3 separate regions of the Homo sapiens genome follow, and all the other regions are linked to region 1. Evidence: promoter capture Hi-C in human tissues and cell types (Jung and others, 2019). All regions are on one chromosome and are shown on one strand. The core of a region is centred on a gene start or on the middle of the fragment in contact, and the rest is flanking DNA. Distances in the headings are between cores, read along the strand shown.

Region 1 (3,760 bases), core at 493-2,992:
TTAGCCGGGTGTGGTGGCATGTGTCTGTAGTCCCAGCTGCTCGGGAGGCTGAGGCAGGAGAATGGCGTGAACCCAGGAGGCTGAGCTTGCAGTGAGCGGAGATTGCGCCACTGCACTCCAGCCTGGGCGACAGAGCGAGACTCCGCCTCAAAAAAAAAAAGATTCATCGTTTGGGGGTTTATTGAAGGGTGAAGATTAAGCACCTAATCTTTCCTTTTCTTTTCTTGATGCATTTCAAAATGTGGGAGCATTGCTTCCAAAGTACTAGTGTTTTATCTTAGATTGCAAATGCATTGCTTTGCTAAGCTTCACAACCAGTGCTCCGGGCGGCCTCCTAAAAGTCTGGCACCTGACTGGGGAGCAAGAGGGATGGAGGACAAAGCCTCATGAAAGGAGGAAAGCACCTGGGGGAGCAGAGGGACAATAAAGAGGCCCCCATAGAATCGTCTGAAATGGGAGTAGGATCAAGAGCGCTGTCTCCTGCTGCCTACTGATTTTCCACAATCTCCTCCCCTCTTAAAATAATGTCTTCCCCAAACACAACAGCCTTGCTGGGATGGGGTGAAGTGAAATTTCTGACAACTACTCGGGATCCTGAACTTGATGTTCTTACATATGTTCATCCCGTGTCATTTTCTGCACTTGCCTGGAAACTTCTCTAGTCATTAGTTTCTCTCCCTGGGGCTGGATTCCTGCATTGAAAGGCTAGGCCCAAAACAGGGATAAGTAGTCATCAGCAAGGCCACCGCACCGAGTAACAAGCAGGGCTTTAAGGTGACTAAGCAATAAGATAAGGAACTGCATTGCATGAGGGGCATGTACATTACAAACGTGAATAGCAAGCGTGGGCAAACCAGGCCCGCTTTTGTATGTAAAGTTTTATTGAAACATAGCTACTCTCATCATTTGGTAATATATTGTTGGTGGCTGATTTCCTGCTGCAGTGGCAGAGTTGAGTAGCTGTGTTAGAGGCTGTATAGACCACAAAGCCTAACATATTATTATCTGGCCCTTTTCAGAGAGATCATGCCAGTCCGTGGTGTACAGCATTGTGCTAAGCTGTGAGGGACAGACAAACGAGGTTTAAGATGCAGAGCTTAGGCTGGGCATGGTGGCCCACACCTGTAATCTCAGCACTTTGTGAGGGTGAAAAGGGCAAATTGCTTGAAGCCAGGAGTTTGAGACCAGCCTGGGCAACAAAGGTAGACCTCTGTCACTACAAAATACACAAAAATTAGCCAGGCATAGTGGTGTGTGACTGTGGTCCCACCTGTTTGGGAGGCTGAGGTGGGAGGATCTTTTAAGGCTGGGAGGTTGAGGCTGTTGTGAGTTGTGATTGTGCCACTGCACTCCAGCCTGGGCAACAGAGTGACATCCTGTTTCAAAAAAAAAAAAAAAGATGCAGAGCTTACAAATAAGGTTGGTTTCCATCCTCTGCCTTAGAATGTTAACTGATCTCAAACAAGTCAAAACAAAACCCGTAGCAATGATAACCCCAAGCATCATGTTCTACATCCTTCAAGAACCTGCCATTGCTGGTTCTCAGGGACAGGTGGCTTCATAAGAGTAATTTAGGTCTTACTGAAAAGGCAGATTCCTGGTGCCTGCCGCAGAGGCTGACTTCTCAGTTGAGTCTGCGGAAGAAACACTGCTCCACTTAGTCGGTGACAGGCAGCTCAGGGGAGCGTCCTGCATCCCCTGAAGCCATGTCTGATTCTAACAAGGCTCGAGTAATCCTTTCCTAGCTCAAGAACCTTTCTTTAGAGTGTTAGAGAAAGAAAAATTCTTAGTCCTTTGTTTCTCACCACCTAGAGATGCTAGAATTCTACTTCTTGGCACTAAAAGCTATATCATCCTGCACGCTTGTGTTCTGAAGCAGGTGCTAACTCTCTTCTGGGCCTTAATACCTCTCGTTTTTTCTCTTTTCCTCTCAACAACTGTCCTCACTACACAACTTGGCCAGGGCCTCCCGTCCAAGTGAGAGCTCTTCTCTAAGGCAACAGTCTGCAAACTTTATCACAAATTCCATTAATAAAGTTAAGCATGTATCCTCTTTAGATGTATATTAAATTATAAATCACACTTCTGTACCTCTGTACTAATATGCTACATAAATTATCAACATACACAAAACTAAAATCTGAAAATGAATGAGAGGTGAAATTAACATTAAAAATTAATTAACAGCACATTTCTTTGCTATAGTTATATTGTTAATTAATAAAATATTGTCAAAGGAGGGCCACAAAAGAAATAAAAAATTTTTATGTATAATTAACATGATTTCATTGTTTTTTAAAAATTTGGCTTAACACTTTGTGACTCAATAAAGAGCTAGTTTGAAGGTCCATTTATTTCTGTGTTCAGATTTAATGACACATTTGAAATGAATTCTCATTGGAATATGTAGATCTCAGTATAAGTTTGTTGTTAGTTGTACCTAACTAATTATTGTATTTTATTAAATTCCATCTGCAAATAATGCAAAGATCTTGTTGAAATCTAGTTTTAAGTTTATATAGTATTACATTGTGTAGATATAACATATTTAGCCAATTCCATATTGACTCACACTTAAGGTATTTTTTTCTTCTATGATAAACATATTACAATTAGTAATCTTGTACATTTGTCATTTGTACATTTGCAAGAATATCTGTAGGATACATTCCTGGAAATTGAATTGCTGGGTTAAGGACTGTAATTTTGTAATTTTGCTAGATATTGCCAAATTGCCTTCCACGTGGGCTTGTATGACGAAGATGGCTAGCATACCCTATTACCAAAGGTTAAGATATTTGCTAATATTAGAGATGAAACATAATTTGTCAGCAAAGTTTCAATTTCAGCTTCCCTTATTTCAAGCTGTCTGAGCATCTTTTCTTATCTTCAGAAGCCATTTGTGGACTTTTTTCTCTCTCTCTCTCTCTTTTTTTTTTTTTTTAATTGAGACAGAGTCTCCCTCTGTTGTCCAGGCTGGAGCTCAGTAGTGTGATCTCGGCTCATTGCAACCTCCACCTCGCAGGTTGAAGCGATTCTCGTGCCTCAGCCTCCCGAGTAGCTGGTATTACAGGCATGTGCCCCCACGCCCAGATAATTTTTGTATTTTTAGTAGAGATGGTGTTTCACCATGTCTGCCAGACTGGTCTCAAACTCCTGATCTCAAGCAATCTGCTCGCCTCAACCTCCCAAAGTGCTGAAATTATAGGCATGATCCACGGCATCTGGCCTGTGTGCTTTTTCTTGTGAATTGTCTATAATACGAGAAAATACATAGGTTTTTCTTCAAACATCTTTTTCAAAGTGCTTTGAAATAGGAATTTTATAGTCAATGAGAAAATAGAGACAGATTGTCTTTTTTTTCAAAAATGCTTGTTTAGCAAGTTTTCGGATACATAGTAAATATACAAAAGCCATTTCTATTCTTATATACTAGGAATCAAAATATTTTAGATTCTTCTAAAATAAAAAATATCATTTACAACAGCACACACAAGAATATGACGTACTTAAATGTAAACCTAACAAAATCTGTGCAGGATATATATTCTGACAACTGTAAGACAGATGAAAAACTAAAGAAGACCTAAGTGGAAAAGAAATACCATGTTCCTGAATTTAAAAATTCTATGTTGTTAAGATTTAATCTATAGATTTAATGGAATTCCAATTAAAATCCCAGAAAATTGTTTTGAAAATATCAATAAGATGATCTTAAAACTTATACGGAAGGGCAAATGGACTACAATAAACAAAACTA
Region 2 (3,760 bases), core at 476-2,975, 310 kb before region 1:
AACTCCTGACCTCAGGTGATCCACCCACCTCATCCTCCCAAAGTGAGGGGATTACAGGCGTGAGCCACCGCACCCAGCCTATTTCACATATTTCAAAGATATTCCCTACCTCAGAATACAAATCTATGATTTAAATAAATTTAAGGCCAGGCGCGGTGGCTCACACCTGTAATCCCAGAACTTTGGAAGGCTGAGGCGGGTAGATCACCTGAGGTCAGGAGTTCGAGACCAGCCTGGCCAATATGGTGAAACCCCATCTCTACTAAAAATACAAAAATTAGCCAGGCATGGTGGCTTGCTCCTGTAATCCTAGCTACTGAAGAGGCTGAGGCACGAGAATCGCTTGAACCCAGGAGGCGGAGGTTGCAATGAGCTGAGATCACATCACTGTTGCCTGGGCAAGAGAGCAAGACTCCATCTCAAAAAACAAAACAAAACAAAACAAAACAAATTTAAGTAAATTTCTACTCTATTCTTTATTTAAATCACAGATTTTATAAATGATTGAATAATTATGACTGAATGATTAAATAACGATTTAATCTATAATTTCTTGTCTATGATTTAATGATGTTAATTTCACTATGGCATAACTAATCTCAAATCTTTTTATCTTCTTTTAATGGAGTTATATTTTAAAAAAAGATTTGAGACTAGTTATGCCACAGTGAAATTAACATTACATTTAATTTAGCATACTAGAATTATTGTCTTTCAACAACCCAATGATTCCTAATCAATTTTTGAGGTAATCAGTTTTCTAACAGTAGATGGAAATGTAGGGAGTTCCCCCATCTTTCACCAAACCAAATTTCAGCACTACCTCTAGTCAATACTTAATTTACATCTCCAATTCCATTCTTATCATCTTCATACACGACACAAACTGAATGCTAACTAAAAAAGCTTCAGGTAATTTCTAAAATGTAGCACTCTAGACTAACTGGAATTCAGTAATTCAGCAAAACAAACTCAATAACAGCACGTTAGACTCAGATATTCACCTTTCCTACTAGTATTTATATCTTAAGAGGTAATCATTTTCATAAATATACAACCACCATGAAATCCCTGGCCCACACTATCTGCAACAGATACTATGCTGTTTTCAAGAGCAAATTCCCACTCTTCAGAAATCTCATCAATGGCTACTTCCTATCTGAAAGCATTTCATAATTCCAAACTGGTTTTCCATCCTTTTTGTTCCATTCACCATTTGACTTATCTGACTGCATTGTGACTGTTTGTATGCTGTCCACTCCTCTGCCCCAGTCAGGAATTACAAAGGCCACTGTCCTATTCATTATTGCCCAACTCCCCACCACCGACCTGCCCCCAATGAGCATCTAGCATATAGCAGGTATATAATCAATAATCTGGATGACTGCTGATATTTTAATTTTTTTTTTGAGATGGAATCTGGCTCTGTCACCCAGGCTGAAGTGCAGTGGCGGCGTGACCTTGGCTCACTGCAACTTCCGCGTCCCGGCTTCAAGTGATTCTCCTGCCCCAGCCTCCTGAGTAGCCGGAACTACAGGCGAACACCACCACACCCGGCTAATTTTTATATTTTTAGTTAGAGACAGGGTTTCACTATATTGGCCAGGCTGGTCTCAAACTCCTGACCTTAAGTGATCCACTCGCCTCGGCCTCCCAAAATGCTAGGATTACAGGCGTGAGCCACCGTGCCCGGCCCTGATATTTGACTTTAAATGCCTATAATCACCAGAGAGATAAATAAGCCTCCTATAAATTTATCTCCCATTTTTTGTGTTTTTTGTCATTTTTTTGTCAAGACCTGGTTACCTGCATAATTTCTCAAAAATTATTCTAGGTTTTAACATTTTAATAGCACATTTTACGTGCTCTACTATACAATTTATAATATGTTGAAGGAGCTATATAAAATGTATGTATGTATATATATTTCTACTTAGATCTATTTTTAAGGAACCTGAGCACATGTTTTACTATTTCAAGTAATTAACAGTGTATGTTTTTTTGTGATGCAGTGTCAGTCACATATATTGATGCTCTTTTAGCTGCTGTGTCTTTTTTCAGGAATGAATCTTCAATTAAAGCACTAAGCACAGAAGTAAATGTAACAAAAGTAGCAAAGCCAGAAAGCATGGAAAACACAAGAAAATGAGACATATGAGAGAACACAGTGGAGATTATAAGAAAACACAAATAAACAGGGCAATTCAAGAGGAACCAAATATGAAAGTTAATATCATGGTCCATCTTGCCCAGTACAAACAGCCCTCAACTTTAAAATGTTATCCAATCATTTTGAAATCTACATAGTGAACTCCTACTATGAACCCAATACTATTCCGAGAACAGAAGACGCAGAGGTGAAGCAGACAGCTAGCCCTAGAAAAGCTTGACAATGCTGAGGCAGGCACATAAAAGAACTACAACAATCTAACAGTTGTTACAATACAGGTGTGTACCAAGAGCTTGGAAACCAACAAAGCACTACCCACTGGGAAGCAGAGAGGACAGCAAGAAAAGACCTAACAGATGAGATCCTGTACTAGGTTTGTCTGTCTTCTCTGGCTTAATCTTGAGATTCTCCATAAAAAAAAGCGGGGTGGCTGGGAGGGGGAGGCTGGGAGAAGGCCATTTCAGGCAAAAGCATGGAGCAATGAAAAAAAGCACAAAACATCAGGGATCATCAAGGAGTTCAAGAGTGGCTAAAGCTCCCAACTGGTATACAGGAATCAACGTAAAAGAAGAGGATAAAAAGGAAGGTGATAAAGGGCCCTGCATACAATGTGAAAAAGTTTGGTCTTTAGCTTAGCTTAGGTTCTAAATAGTAGTTTACAAAATCCTAGAAGTTCTGGAAGGTATTCTAGGAATTCATGTTGCCTTCTATTAATAAACAAGCAAGGAAGCAAATAAAATATTTTTTCTTTTAAAAAAGAACAAATTGATTATTTGTATATCAAATGAGAGGTACAGCTTAGAAGAAATGAAATGATTGTACACAAGATTCAGGTCACTTACATGATTAAACACCAAGTACTCAATATGGTTTTGATTGTTTCACAGTTTAAAATTGTTTTCTTCCTTAGGTTTAATGTCCACCAAAGTTGAACTACTGGTCAAAATTAGAAAGTATAAAAACCATGGATTTTGGAGGGAAAAAAAAGGAAAAGGAAAATATTGATAAATTCTCCTCAAAATGATCTTCACCAAATTCTTAATATACATTAATCTAAGACAAGTTCTTTTACAGCAACTTCAAAAACCATAGGTGATGGAAGGCAAAAAGTGTATTTTGCTTGGCATTTATTGGCAATTCGCACCTACAATGTGCTATATGCCGAGAAGCAATTGCAAAAACTAGCCTGAAAAATTCTCTTACCGTATTTAAAAACTACTGCAAAAATTTAAAAACAATCAAATTTGATGTTTCAAGTGAAATATTAAAGAATTCCAAGCTAGTTTTGCCTGTTTTGATGCTATACGATGTGAACATATTTAAATGTATTTTAATGTAGATTTGGAATTAAAAACTCAACAGGTCATTTAAAATCCCAGCACTTGGGGAGGCTGAGAAGGATCGCTTGAGCCTAGGAGTTTGAGACCAGCCTGGGCAATATAGTAAGACACCATGTCTACAAAAAGTTTTTTAAAAAATTAGCTGAGTGAGTGGTGGCACAAGCCTGTATATCCCAGCTATTGAGGAGGCTGAGGTGGGAGGATCACTTAAGCCTGGGAGGCAGAGTTGCAGTGAGCCAAGATTGCACCA
Region 3 (3,760 bases), core at 749-3,248, 290 kb before region 1:
ATTTGGTGGCGTTGAAGACCTACCTTAGAAATATGCAAAGCCTGGCGCAGTGGCTCACGCCTGTAATCCCAACATTTTGGGAGGCCAAGGCAGGTGGATCACCTGAGGCCGGAATTTCGCGACCAGCCTGACCAACATGGAGAAACCCAATCTCTACTAAAAATACAAAATAAGCCGGGCGTGGTGGCGCATACCTGTAATCCCAGCTACTCAGGAGGCTGAGGCAGGAGAATCGCTTGAACCCAGGAGGCAGAGGTTGTGGTGAGCCAAGATCGCACCATTGCACTCCAGCCTGGGCAACAAGAACAAGACTCCGTCTCAAAAAAAAATACTCTTTAAAAACCACTGAGAAGGCCAGGCGCGGTGGCTCATGCCTGTAATCTCAATACTTTGGAAGGCCAAGGCGGATCATATGAGGCAAGGAGTTTGAGATCAGCCTAAGCAACACAGCAGGACCTCGTCTCTATTTCACTAAAGAAATAAATTATATAATATTTTAAAATTTTTAAAAAGCTCTGAGGAATGCCACTAGCAAAATGAAAGTTGGCTAGAATTAAAACTTTGTAAGCGATGAGTATAAAGTATTGTTTTAAGAAAATGAAAGTAGTAAAGTACTCCAGAAGAGGTTAAAACAACCACGTTAGACATTTTAAACTCAAAGGGATGAAAGACCAATGTTAAAGGGCAAGAAAAACTAGAAATACTCAAGTAATGAAGGCCCAAGACCTCTCAGTTTCTCAGAATAACAATCCTGTCTATCCACTAGAAGACTGGCATTAAAATGATCACATACTGAAATTGTGTACTGGAGTATCTGAAGTGAAAAAAAATCGTAACTTCAAATGCTCTTATTTGAAACCAACATTGAAAATATCAACTGGCTGGGCACAGTGGCTCACACCTGTGAACTACTGGGAGGCCAAGGCGGGAGGATCGCTTGAGCTCAGGAGTGAGACCAGCCTGGGCAACGTGATGAAACCCTGACTCTACCAAAAAAAAAAATACAAAAACTAGCTGGGCATGGTGGAATGCATCTGTAGTCTCAGCTACTCAGAAGGCTGAGGTGGGTCACTTGAGTCCAGGAGTATGCAGCTACAGTGAGCTGAGATTGCACCACTGCACTCCAGCCTGGGCAACAGAGCAAGACTCCACCTCAAAAAATAACGTAACATAACATAACATAACAACATAACATTAACATAACAACATAACATTAACATAACATAACATAACGTAACATAACTGAACTGAACTGAACTAAGCATTCAACTCAAAAATAATAAAAGAGGCCGGGCTCGGTGGCTCATGCCTGTAATCCCAGCACTTTGGGAGGCCAAGGCAGGCAGATCACATGAGATCAGGAGTTAGAGACCAGCCTGGCCAACGTGGTGAAACCCCAAATCTACTAAAAATACAAAAAATTAGCCAGGTGTGATGGCGCGTGCCTGTAATCCCTGCTACTTGGGAGGCTGAGGCAGGAGAATCGCTTGAACCTGGGAGGCGGAGGTTGCAGTGAGCCACGATCAGGCCATTGCACTCCAGCCTGGGCAACAAGAGCAAAACTCTGTCTCAAAATAATAATAATAACAATAAAAGTAAAGGAAATAGATTAGAAGCAAAAATTTTCTTATTAGAAAATTAAACCTTGAAAATAATATTTTGATAAATAAAGCCATGAGTTGATTCTTTGGAAAGACTAGCAAGGTCTGGCAAGTCTGAGTAAGAAACACCAAGACAGGCCAGGTGCAGTGGCTCACGCCTATAATCCCAGCACTTTGGGAGGCCAAGGCGGGCGGATCACAAGGTCAGGAGATCGAGACCATCCTGGCTAACTCAGTGAAACCCCGTCTCTAATAAAAATACAAAAAATTAGCCGGGCATGGTGGTGGGCGCCTGTAGTCCCAGCTACTTGAGAGGCTGAGGCAAGAGAATGGCGTGAACCCAGGAGGTGGAGCTTGAAGTGAGCTGAGATCACGCCACTGCACTCCAGCCTGGGCGACAGAGCAAGAGTCCGTCTCAAAACAAAAACAAAAACAAACAAACAAAAAAACACCAAGACAAATACAAACAATATTTGAACACAGAAGAGACAGAATCTTGGGCCGGGCGTAGTGGCTCACACCTATAATCCCAGCAGTTTGGGAGGCCGAAGTGGGCACATCACCTGAGGTCAGGAGTTCGAGACCAGCCTGGCCAAAGTGGCGAAACTCCGTCACTACTAAAAATACAAAAGTTAGCTGGGTGTGGTGGTGCACACCTGTAGTCCCAGCTACTTGGGCAGCTGAGGCATGAGAATTGCTTGAATCGGGGAGCAGTTGCAGTAAGCCAAGATCATGCCACTGCACTCCAGCCTGGGCAAGAGCGAGACTCCATCTCAAAAAAAAAAAAAAAAAAAGAGAGAGAGAATCAGAAAGAAGACATTTTAAAATTGACAGAAAACCATGTACAATTTTATGTCATTATGCTGGAAAGAGAAAGAAAACCTAAACTGTTCAAAAGGCCGAAAACTTCAGAAGAATGTGGTTACCTGTAAGTACAAATGGGGCATGGCGGGGAAGGAGCAGACAAGGATTACTATCACTTTTCATTCAACATATCCTGTAGTTTGAATTTTTAAAAGCAATCCCATTTATTTATAGAGATATTAAAATTGTAATAAAAATATTAGCACGACAAATGTAATAATGCATTTTTGTAAATACACCTTGACTAAGTAGGGTTTATTCTGTGAATGCAAGAATGACTTGACATGAGGAAATCTACAGTGAATCTACAATTCACTACGTTAAGACATTAGGAGGGGAAAGAAAAAGACATTAGGAACCATATACAATCTCAAGACCATATGCCAGTCATCAATACCATCTCAAATGTCAAAACTCAACATCTACTCAATGTGTTGAGCATGACGACATTCTTAGAAAGCTAGAAATAGAAAAAAACTTTCCTTCATCTCATTATGCATCCACCACCACGATTCATCTCCGTAACTCTTTTCACCTTGTAAAACTGAAGATCTATACCCATTAAACAATAATGTAGCTTGAACATTTTACAGGAATCTTTATTGTTCATAAAAAAATACATAGTTCTAAAAGTTGAGGTACACCTAAAAACTTACACTTTCTGCATAACAAAGTAATTCAAAAAGCTGCTTGTTTGAACGTGGCAACTGATTACTTGACCGTACGCGTGACCGTTCAGAAGTCTGGTTTTTCAACTTCAGATTGAAGAAACGTGATCTGAATGGAATTGCAGTCTCCATGGCCGTGCTTGGAGTATGAGTCCCATTCTGCAGTGAACCTATGCTTTCCTTTTGGCAAAATTCTACGACAGCATAGAGACCCTATACCAAAAACATAAGAAAAAACAGAACACATTTCACGATATATCTAACATACTATTTTAGCTCATATATTAAAACAATTATCATAATGCTACAAAATATCAAGTCTTTAAAATTTACAAATGATATGATTCTAACATAGCATTAATTTTATTCAATTTAAGTAGATGAAGAAAAGGAACACTGGGCCGGGCGCAGTGGCTCACGCTTGTAATCCCAGCACTTTGGGACATGGAGGTGGGCAGATCACCTGAGGTCAAGAGTTCAAGACCAGCCTGGCCAACATGGTGAAACCTCGCCTCTACTAAAAATACAAAAATTAGCCAGGCGTGGTGGCAGGTGTCTGTAAGTCCAGCTACTTGGAAGGCTGAGGCAGGAGAATCGCTTGAACCCAAGAGACGGAGGTTGCAATGA

What was found. Contacts are between HindIII fragments. The study calls those that stand out against the background at their distance.
Region 2: a contact is called between a fragment that was not itself captured here and the fragment with the promoter of LYZL2 in region 1, in 2 of the 25 tissues and cell types used here (lymphoblastoid cells and spleen).
Region 3: a fragment that was not itself captured here is called in contact with the fragment with the promoter of LYZL2 in region 1 in 2 of the 25 tissues and cell types used here (lymphoblastoid cells and mesenchymal stem cells).

What each region holds. Positions count from the first base shown.
Region 1 is chr10:30,628,011-30,631,770 of GRCh38, forward strand. It overlaps LYZL2 (lysozyme like 2), which reads right to left and starts at 1,743. Exons shown (of 5, transcript NM_183058.3): 1 at 1,583-1,743. The HindIII fragment of the contact is 10,435 bases long and covers 3-3,760 here.
Region 2 is chr10:30,316,464-30,320,223 of GRCh38, forward strand. All of the region lies in intron 6 of MTPAP (mitochondrial poly(A) polymerase), which reads right to left. Among named protein-coding and RNA genes, the nearest start is that of MTPAP, 31 kb to the right of the region's middle. The HindIII fragment of the contact is 3,837 bases long and covers 1-3,644 here.
Region 3 is chr10:30,337,105-30,340,864 of GRCh38, forward strand. It overlaps MTPAP (mitochondrial poly(A) polymerase), which reads right to left. Exons shown (of 9, transcript NM_018109.4): 3 at 3,122-3,346. Among named protein-coding and RNA genes, the nearest start is that of MTPAP, 10 kb to the right of the region's middle. The HindIII fragment of the contact is 6,752 bases long and covers 1-3,760 here.